Regions from separate parts of the Homo sapiens genome. Here regions 2 and 3 are each linked to region 1. The links are contacts of gene promoters, found by promoter capture Hi-C in human tissues and cell types (Jung and others, 2019). All regions are on one chromosome and are shown on one strand. The core of a region is centred on a gene start or on the middle of the fragment in contact, and the rest is flanking DNA. Distances in the headings are between cores, read along the strand shown.

Evidence for each region. The method cuts DNA at HindIII sites, captures the fragments that hold promoters and counts their contacts. A contact is called where the count stands out against the background at its distance.
Region 2: the fragment with the promoter of FCER2 here is called in contact with a fragment that was not itself captured in region 1 in 1 of the 25 tissues and cell types used here (lymphoblastoid cells).
Region 3: a contact is called between the fragment with the promoter of RETN here and a fragment that was not itself captured in region 1, in 1 of the 25 tissues and cell types used here (lymphoblastoid cells).

What each region holds. Positions count from the first base shown.
Region 1 is chr19:7,852,002-7,855,218 of GRCh38, forward strand. EVI5L (ecotropic viral integration site 5 like) reads left to right here. Exons shown (of 20, transcript NM_001159944.3): 9 at 1,085-1,182; 10 at 1,272-1,332. Among named protein-coding and RNA genes, the nearest start is that of PRR36, 21 kb to the right of the region's middle. The HindIII fragment of the contact is 4,759 bases long and covers 1-3,217 here.
Region 2 is chr19:7,700,432-7,703,966 of GRCh38, forward strand. It overlaps FCER2 (Fc epsilon receptor II), which reads right to left and starts at 1,700. Exons shown (of 11, transcript NM_001220500.2): 1 at 1,584-1,700. LOC105372262 (a long non-coding RNA gene) reads right to left here. Exons shown (of 5, transcript XR_936296.2): 5 at 2,649-2,690. RefSeq lists an enhancer at 1,587-1,696. The HindIII fragment of the contact is 10,644 bases long and covers 1-3,535 here.
Region 3 is chr19:7,667,526-7,670,822 of GRCh38, forward strand. It overlaps RETN (resistin), which reads left to right and starts at 1,524. Exons shown (of 4, transcript NM_020415.4): 1 at 1,524-1,596; 2 at 1,792-1,919; 3 at 2,296-2,373; 4 at 2,694-2,930. The coding sequence starts at 1,802. The coding sequence ends at 2,824. The HindIII fragment of the contact is 23,719 bases long and covers 1-3,297 here.

The DNA.
Region 1 (3,217 bases), core at 24-2,523:
ACAGGAGGCCCAGGCTGAGCCCTGGGAGCCCCACTGCCCACCTCCTGCCCCCAACCCCGCAGATGCCCCAAAGCCTGATGGCAGATCATGACTGACTGACCATGAGGGCATCCCCACCCTGCCGCCCAGCCTGGTGAGGGCACAGGAGGGAGTTTGGGGGTCTAGGCAACCTCACGCCTTGCCCCGCCCCAGCCCGGCCTGCCTGGAGGCCCTGCTGCTGGCCAGCCTGCCTCCCACCGCTACTTCTCTGCTGTGCGGGCCCCTGCCCCCTCCCCGCGTCCTCCAGCTGGTGCTTCAGGGAAGAATGCACAAAGGCCACGGTTGTGTCCGTGAACATGGGCAGGCATTGTCCACAGCTACCAGAGGGGGCCAGCTGGGCCGGGTGCAGGAGCTGTGTCCCCCCTGGGCTTACCTTAACCCTTTGCACAGGCCCGAGGCCCCCGGCATACCCATCCTCCTTCCCCCACGAAGGTCCCCTCTGTCAGACCCCCCGACCCTCAGCCTTCACTCCCAGGAGAGCCTCCTTGGCCTGCTTTTCTTTTTTTCTTTTACCTTTTTCTTTTTTTTTTTAAGTCGGAGTTGCTCTGTGGCCCAGGCTGGAGTACAGTGGTGCAGTCCTAGCTCACTGCAGCCTCCACCTCCTGGGCTGAAGCGATCCTCCCGCCTCAGCCTCCTGAGTAGCTGGAACCAGAGGTGTACATCACCATGTCCAGCTAATTTTTTTTTTTCAGAAATGGGGTCTCACTATGTTGCCCACACTGGTCTCAAACTCCTGGGCTCAAGCTATTTATTTCTCCCACCTCAGGCTTTTAAATCATTGGGATTATATGAATGAGCCACCACATCCAGCATCTGCCAGCTTTTCTTCTGGAAACTAAGGCTTTGGCTGCAGGCAGTCCCCCATTCCCTCCCCTCACGCTCAGTCTTTCCATTGCTCCACAAACACTGAGGACACGGCGTTGAGGACATGGCGACACCCCGGGCAGACCCGTTCCTGCCCCCCTCCAGGGCAACAGGGCTCGGGCGGCCCCCGGTGGTCAGGGCCTGCATGTTGGTGACCAGGTGACCGGCTGTGTCCCCACAGTACTTCCAGAGAGTGATCCCCCACCAGTTCGACAGCTGCCCGGACAAGCTGGTCCTCAAAGCCTACCAGGTCAAGTACAACCCCAAGAAGATGAAGAGGTCGGTGCCTGCTGGGCAACCAGGGTACTGGTAAGAAGGGGGGACCCCCGAGGGCATGACAGTAACCACGGGGCCCTCCCGATCTGCAGGCTGGAGAAGGAGTACGCAGCCATGAAGAGCAAGGAGATGGAGGAGCAGATCGAGATCAAAGTGAGTCCAGGGGCCCAGGGGCGGGGACAGGGATGGGAGGCCTTTGGGGGCTGCCCTCCGTACTCTAAAGATCGGCCGCTAGGGGGCGGGCCTTCCCAGCGCACAGGCGGACCCGGCGGTCCTTGGCGGACAGGCCTCCGCCCACCTGCGCCGTCCTTCACCTGTTAGGCCAGCTGTGAGCGCCTCCCCCGCCTGACGCCGCGGTAACCAAGACAGTCAAGGTCCCTGCCCCGCTGGGCCGCCCAGCGTCATGGGGAAGCAATCAATAAACCACTGAACTAGAGTGCGGACTCTAAATGCTCTGGACAAGGATGTGCACGCGGTGGGCAAGGCTGACTTGGGCAGAGGCTCCGGGCCCAGGGTGTCGAGGGCTAAAGGCCCAGGGCAGCAGCGTGCCTTGGGGGCTGGAGGAATTCCAAGAAGGTTGCAGTGGAGGACCCCGCAAGGGGACCGCCCTCTGGGGAAAGATGGAGCACGCAGGGCCCAGACACCAGGGTGTGTAGGGCAGGGTGTGGGCACTCACCCGGGGCCCCTGGTTCCTGGGGCAACTGGCCCACCAGCCCTGCCAGGTCAGGGGGTTTCCTGAGTGTGCAAAGCTTCTCTCTCCTTCCTTGCGCATTCTTCCCTTTACACGTGATTTTAGTTATTTACTCAACAAGCATTTATTGCCGGGCGCGATGGCTCATGCATGTAATCCCAGCACTTTGGGAGGCGGAGGCAGGTGGATCACTTGAGGTCAGGAGTTCGAGACCAGCCTGGCTAATGCAGTGAAACCCCGTCTCTATTAAAAATACAAAAATTAGCTGGGTGTGGTAGCACACACCTGTAATCCTGGCTACTCGGGAGGCTGAGGCAGGAAAATCACTTGAACCCGGGAGGCGGAGGTTACAGTGAGGCAAGATTGTACCGTTGCACTCCAGCCTGGGCGACAGAGTGAGACTGTGTCTCAAAAAAAAAAAAAAAAGAAAAGAAAAGAAAAAAAACATTTATTGAGCACCTGCTGTGTGCCAAAGTCACAGCTGAGACTGAGGGCGCACCAGTGATAGGAAGGGACACAGACACAAACCCAACACAGCCTGGCTCCATGCTCTTCAGGGGCAGAGCCGCACAGTGGCTAACACTGGAGTCCAACAGACAAGGATTCAATTCCAGCTCCAGCGGCACAGTGGCTCACACCTGTAATCCCAACACTTTGAGAGGCTGAGGTGGGAGGGTGGCTTGAGGCCAGGAGTTGGAGACCAGTCTGGGCAACATAGCAATACCCCGTCTTTACAAAAATATAGAAATAAATACAAAAGGTGTGCCCAGCTCCTGCAAGGATGGCTGTGCTTGGTGCTGTGATGGGTTGAAGCCAGAGAGATGATAGGGAAACCCAGGGGCCAGGGATCAGGGCTCCAGATTGCTATGAGGACCAGAGACCTGAAATAGCTCTGACCCAGCTGAACTGAGGGACTAGGGCAATGCCCTGCCCCACTCTGACTCAGTTTCCCCACATGACATGCATCAATGACTGTCAAGTCTGCGGTTCTGTCTGACTGCATTTGCTTCCTGGGAATGTTCTAGGTGTTTCCATCACCTTTTCTCCCCAGAAGAAACCCAGGAAATATTCTGTGTGACCTGCAGTGTGGCAGGGCCCTCACTCACCTGCCAATCCAAACAATTTCTGTACCACCTTAGTATCAAGCAAGGGGGCACAGGTACAGTCGAGATTCAACTCGTTTGCAAACCTCACCTGCTCCCCAGAGTGTCCTGGGGGAACCTAAAGTGCAAATATCTTTTTCTTTTTTTTTTTTTTTTTTTGGAGATGGAGTCTTGCTCTGTCACCCAGGCTGCAGTGCAGTGAGGTGATCTCGGCTTACTGCAACCCCTGCTCCCGGGTTCAAGT
Region 2 (3,535 bases), core at 450-2,949, 150 kb before region 1:
TGCTAAGAGCCCATAACCCAGGCCTCAGCCTTCTCCTCTGCCAATGTCCCCAGGGCATCTGTAAAGTGCTCTGACTTTATTTATTTATTTATTTATTTATTGAAATGGAGTCTCGCTCTGTTGCCCAGGCTGGAGTGCAGGGGCACGATCTCGGCTCACTGCCACCTCCACCTCCTGGGTTCAAGCGATTCTCCCGCCTCAGCCTCCCGAGTAGCTGGGACTATAGGCACGTGCCACCATGACCAGATAATTTTTGTATTTTTAGTAGAGACGGGTTTTCACTATGTTGGCCAGGCTAGTCTCAAACTCCTGACCTCATGATCCGCCCGCCTCGGCCTCCCAAAGTGCTGGGATTACAGGCGTGAGCCACTGTGCATGGCCTATTTTTTTATTTTTTGAGATGGAGTCTCGCTCTGTCACCCAGGCTAGAGTGCAATGGCACCATCTTGGCTCACTGCAACCTCCACCTCCCGGGTTCAAGCGATTCTCCTGTCTTAGCCTCCCAAGTAGCTGGGACTACAGGCACCCACCACCACACCTGGCTAATTTTTGTATTTTAGTAGAGACAGGGTTTCACCATATTGATCAGGCTGGTCTCGAACTCCTGACCACAGGTGATCTGCCCTCCTCAGCCTCCCAAAGTGCTAGGATTACAGGCGTGAGCCACTGCGCCCGACCAAGTCCTCTGACTTTAAAGCATCTACTATGTGCTGAGGAGCATGGGACTTGGGGTCCTTCAGGCCTGGAGGTCACGGGCTACCTTCTTTCGCTGCTTGACTATAGGTAAGTCCCTTCTCTCGGAGCCTCAGGGAGGTGGGGTGTGGCGCGGCCAGGCTCTGATTAGCGGCAGCTCAAGCTGGCCCTTTTGACATTGTGAGAGGAACCCAGAGACCATCCTGGGACTGGAACTGTCCAGGGAGGCAGCTGGACAGACCTGAGTCCGAGTCCTGGCTTCTTCCTGGATGAGCAGCTCAGTTTGCTCATCTGTAAATTGGGAGTATTCAAAGCACCAGCACACAGTAGGTGCTCAGTAAACCTACTGGCAGGATGCTGGGGGACTGTCCTCATTCTGTGGGGCCTCTCTCAGTGGAACTGAGGTTCCAAGAGGGTAAGTCATTTGTCCCCATCACGCAGTGGTGGGACTGGAACTCAAACCCGGGACCCTTGAGCTGGGAGCCCATTTGCTCAATCATCTGGAGACATAATCTCATGGTGGGGTGTCTACTGGTAAGTGCTGGGTGGCAGGATCCCAACTCCAGGCCGTCCTTCTAACCCAAGAGGTCCTGCCTCTGCCTAGAGTCTTCCATGGCTCCCCAGGGCCCTCTATGATCGGCCCAGCGCACTCACCAAGCTCATCTCAGACCAGATGGCCTGCTTTCACTTCCCCAAATCAGGGACTCGAATGCCTCGAGATTCTGTCCACACTGCGGCCCCCACCCCCGCCCCCTCACCACCCACCACCTCCCTTCTCTGGTTGTGACCTCCTGCTGGTCATCCCTTGAGGCTCAGCCCAAGGTCGTTTCTTCCAAGGGCGCTTTGATCTCCACTTCCCATGGCCAACCCCCAACACACCAGATACGTACTCACTTAGTGGAGTTTGGAGCCTGTGTCTGTCCTCCTAGTGTGTTGGGGTCGACCAGAGCGATTGGCAGGGACCGTCAGAGACAGAGGTTTAAGCAGGAAGAGAGACACTTTCTTCTGAAAGTAGAGCCACTGACAGCTTCTATTTTCATAGACCTAAATATGGGCTTGCCACCCGGATAACATTACACGCATGGCCTCTCCTGGTGCTCCCCACACCCGGGTGAAGTCCGTGTTATTATTATCTCCATTTCTCAGGTAAGAGAATTGGGTGAGAACTAGAGATGTTAAGCAGCAAGTTCCCACAGGGCTGAAGGAGGTGAGTGGTAGCGTCAAGATGTGAACCACTGTTACTGCACACTGAATCATACCACTATGGCCGATCACAGAGGGCCCTGGGGAGCCACGGAAGGCTCTAGGCAGAGGCAGGGCCTCTTGGGTTAGAAGGACGGCCTGGAGTTGGGATCCTGCCACCCGGCACTTACCAGCAGACACCCCACCATGAGATTATGTCTCTTGATGATTGAGCAAATAGGCTCCCAGGTCAAATGTCCCAGGTTTGAGTCCCAGCAAGAAAAAAGGGAAGAGGAGAGAGAGGCAGAGGAAGGGGAAAAAAAAGACAGAAGGAAGGAGAGGGAGAAGGAGGAGTAGGAGGGAAGGAGGGAAGCGGGGGGAAAGAAAGATACGTGAGATAATATTCAGGTCAAATATGGACAGTTTTGGCTGGGCACGGTGGCTCACGCCTGTAATCCCAGCACTTTGGGAGGCTGAGGTGGGAGGATCACTTAAGCCTGGGAGTTCAAGACCAGCCTGGACAACATAGCAAGCCGTTGTCTCTACAAAAACTATAAAAACTAGCAGGGCATGGTGGTGCATGCCTGTGATCCCAGCTACTGGGGAGGCAGAGGTGAGTGGATCACTTGAGCCCAGGAGTTCAAGATCAGCCTGGGCAACACAGTGAGATGAAAGAAAGAAAGAGAGAGAGAAAGAGAGAGAGAGAGACCGGGCACAGTGGCTCACGCCTGTAATCCCAGCACTTTGGGAGGCCGAGGCAGGTGGATCATCTGAGGTCAGGAGTTCAAGGCCAACATGGTGAAACCCTGTATCTACTGAAAATACAAAAAAAAAAAAAAAAAAAAAAAAATTAGCTGGGCATGGTGGTGGGCACCTGTAATCCTAGCTACTCGGGAGGCTGAGGCAGGAGAATCGCTTGAATCCGGGAGGCAGAGGTTGCGGTGAGCCGAGATCGCGCCATTGCATTCCAGCCTGGGCAACAAAAGCTAAACTCTGTCTCACAAAAAAAAAAAAGAAAAGAAAAAAGAAAGAAAAACAGAAAAGAAACACCAAACTCCATCCCAGCCCCATCCTGGAACTAAGACTTCATCCCCATGTCCTCACAACATGGCCCAGCTGGACTTATTCCCAAGCTTCCTCCTCCTTCTCCTCGTGTGTCCCCATTGGTGGGACAGTCCGTCCATCCACCCAGACACCCCGGCCCAGGTCCAGGCCTTGTCCAAGCACTTCCCGATCTTCCACCCCACCGCTCACCCAGCACCCGCGCCTGGCTCGTCTCAAAAAAATAACCTGCTTCTCCCCATCCCCACAGCTGCTCCCTCTTCCCCCTGGACCAGGTGACATCCCCCTCTTAGGGTTCCCCCTGCCTGGTTTGCCTTGTCCCTGGGACTGCCTCCTCCATGGCCTCCCCACTCTCATCCTGCCCCCATGACAGCCTTCCCTGGGGCTCTACCTCCTGTCTTGCCCCCCAAAACAGACCCTCCAGGGTCCTCACTCCCACCTGGCCACCACGGCAGACCCCCCCTTAGGATCCCCAACCCGACCTGCCCTCAAGACTAATCCCCCAGTGACCCCACCCTGGCTTGGCCTCAAATGCTGTCCCTATGTCCACTCAGCAGCCCCCAGCCACCTCTCCAATGCTCAGCGGCCAACTCTTTCC
Region 3 (3,297 bases), core at 274-2,773, 180 kb before region 1:
CAACTGAGTGAGACTCTGAAACAAAGAAACAAACAAAAGCAATGGTTAAAATGGAACAAGATGGTGCATACCTGTAGCTTCAGCTACTGGGGAGTCCAAGGTGGGAGGATTACTTGAAGCCAGGAGTCTGACACTAGCTTGGGCAACATAGCAAGACCCCGTCTCAAAAAAAAAAAAAAAAAGGCCGGGCACGGTGGTTCACGCCTGTAATCCCAGCACTTTGGGAGGCCAAGGCGGGCAGATCACAAGGTCAGGGGATCGAGACCATCCTGGCTAACACGGTGAAACTCCATCTCTACTAAAAAAAAAAAAATACAAAAAATTAGCTGGGCGTGGTGGCAGGCGCCTGTAGTCCCAGCTACTTGGGAGGCTGAAGCAGGAGAATGGCGTGAACCCAGGAGGCGGAGCTTGTAGTGAGCCGAGATCGCGCCACTGCACTCCAGCCTGGGCGACAGAGCAAGATTCCGTCTCAAAAAAGAAAAAAGTAAGTTATAATGGTAAGTTGTATGTTATATGTATTTTACCACAAAAAGGCCCGTTGTACTGGAAACAAAGAACAAATAAAAATGTAATAACCATTCCAAGCTCATGGGTGGTCCAAGAAGAAACATGAGCTGGACCTTGGCCCATGAGCAATGGCTTTCCAACTTCTGTTGCAGGTGATGCCATTGATGGAATAAACCATGATTTTTCTTTCTTCTTTTTGAGATGGAGTCTTGCTATGGTGCCCAAGCTAGTCATCCAGGATGGAGTGCAGGGGCACGATCTCAGTGCACTGCAACCTCCACATCCCGGGTTCAAGTGATTCTCCCACCTCAGCCTCCCAAGTAGCTGGGATTACAGGCACACGCCACCACGCCCAGTTAATTTTTGTATGTCTAATGGAGACAGGGTTTCATCATGTTGGCCAGGTTGGTCTCAAGCTCCTGACCTCAAGTGATCCGCCCGCCTTGGCCTCCCAAAGTGCTGGGATTACAGGCGTGAGCCACCGGCCATAAACCATGATTTTATTTACCAGTTCTATTGCTCATGGGCATTTGGGTATGAATGTGGTATGTCATTCTCACCCAGAGACATAATTATTATTACTATTTTAGAGAAGTGGTCTTGCTCTGTTGCCCAGACTGGAGTGCAGTGCTGTGATCATAAGTCACTGTAGCTTCGAACTCCCGGGCTCAAGCAATTCTCTCACGTCAGCCTCCTTAGTAGCTGGGACTACAAGTGCTTGTCCGCACCATGCCTAGCAAGAGGCATTAATTTTGTCATGTTTGCATCAGCCACCCTTGCATGCAAAACTCTGCTTGTCTACCTGTTCCTCAGACCACAGCCCCTGGCATTATCCCTGGGGCACCACCTCCTGACCAGTCTCTGGACATGAAGACGGAGGCCCTGTTGGAAGTGGGAAGGCTCCCTTCCTCCTCCAGCCCTTACTGTCTGCTCAGGGGCTTCCTCTTGGCCCCGGATGTGGGACCGGAGGGTTGGGGGCCCAGGGACTTATTAGCCAAGCCAGGAAGCCCCACCCCAAGAGGCCTCAAAGAAAGAGCTGCGGTGCAGGAATTCGTGTGCCGGATTTGGTTAGCTGAGCCCACCGAGAGGGTAAGTGACAGCTGCTCCTGCGCTTGCCATGGCACCAGCGGGGAGGCTGGGGTCAAGGCTGAGCCTCCATCCCTGTCCCCCACATGGGGGGACAGGGGTCCAGGTCCAGGGGCAGATCCTACTCCCTCCATGGGCCGGATCTTCCCCACAGGGCAGGGCTGATCCAGCTGTGGGTCTCTTGGTTCCCTCTTTCAGCGCCTGCAGGATGAAAGCTCTCTGTCTCCTCCTCCTCCCTGTCCTGGGGCTGTTGGTGTCTAGCAAGACCCTGTGCTCCATGGAAGAAGCCATCAATGAGAGGATCCAGGAGGTCGCCGGCTCCCTAAGTGAGGACCCCCCACTTGGGCAAGCTCCCCAAGGGTCTCAGAGACCTCACTGATCCCTGGCACAGACCTGACTCCAACCCAGCCCCAGCGCTCACCAAATCTCATCCTCAAATCCAACCAGATCATAAATTCAACCCCAACTCCACTCCCAACCCCTCCGACTGTCCCCACCTTATCCACGGCTCCAAACCCAATCCCCGCTCTCACTCCAAACCTTCCCTTACTCCAAAACACCCAACTCAAGACAGGGTCCTGGAGGCCAGTGAGCTCCTATGCCCACAGGGACCTAGCTCCAAACCAACAGGGCTAGGGGAGGATGGGGGAGGGACCGTTTGGTCTCACAGCTCCCCCTGTCTCCTTTCCTCCTGCCCCCCAGTATTTAGGGCAATAAGCAGCATTGGCCTGGAGTGCCAGAGCGTCACCTCCAGGGGGGACCTGGCTACTTGCCCCCGAGGTGAGTGCAGGAGACTGTTGTCCAGGCGCCCATTTCTGTTCCAAGTCCCCTGGGAATGCCCCCTCCCCGCCACGTTCCCCGTGTCCAGCCTCTACTCCCCTAGGATCTTGGTCCTGACTCCCAGCCTTCTCCGCCCACCATCTGGACACTGGTGTCCACCCTCACTCCCTGCCTCCAGTGCCCATTCAGTGGTTGGAGCCTCCAGCCGTCCCCGTCCCCACCCCCGCCCCCCCAACCCCCCTCCGCGCTCCCCACCCCCCTCCCGCTCCCACCCTCAGCCTCCCAGCTCAGAGTCCACGCTCCTGTGTTCCGGGCTGCAGGCTTCGCCGTCACCGGCTGCACTTGTGGCTCCGCCTGTGGCTCGTGGGATGTGCGCGCCGAGACCACATGTCACTGCCAGTGCGCGGGCATGGACTGGACCGGAGCGCGCTGCTGTCGTGTGCAGCCCTGAGGTCGCGCGCAGCGCGTGCACAGCGCGGGCGGAGGCGGCTCCAGGTCCGGAGGGGTTGCGGGGGAGCTGGAAATAAACCTGGAGATGATGATGATGATGATGATGATGATGATGGAGCGGATCTGAGCCCTGCGTGGTTTCTTTAGTAGGCCCGGAGGGACTGATCTAGCGTCTCCAAGAGAGTGGGGCGCGTAGCTGCTGGAGGGGGCGGGGACACCGCGACTTTCTACTGCCCCATCGCCCTTCCTCCTATGGGGTCTCCAACTGCTTCCTCCGAAAATAGGGCCTGAACTTCCTCTAGTGACGTCCCCACCCAAGGCTCATGGCTGCCTTCAAGAGGTGACGTCTCATCTTTGAGGCTACCTTGACGCTCACCCTGGGGTCTCCGACCTCCCCAGGAAGTGGCTGGGTCCTTTTCCCCCAGTCCTCATAATGAGGCTTCATCGAGGACCTGGGTCAGTCTGGGCAGTGGA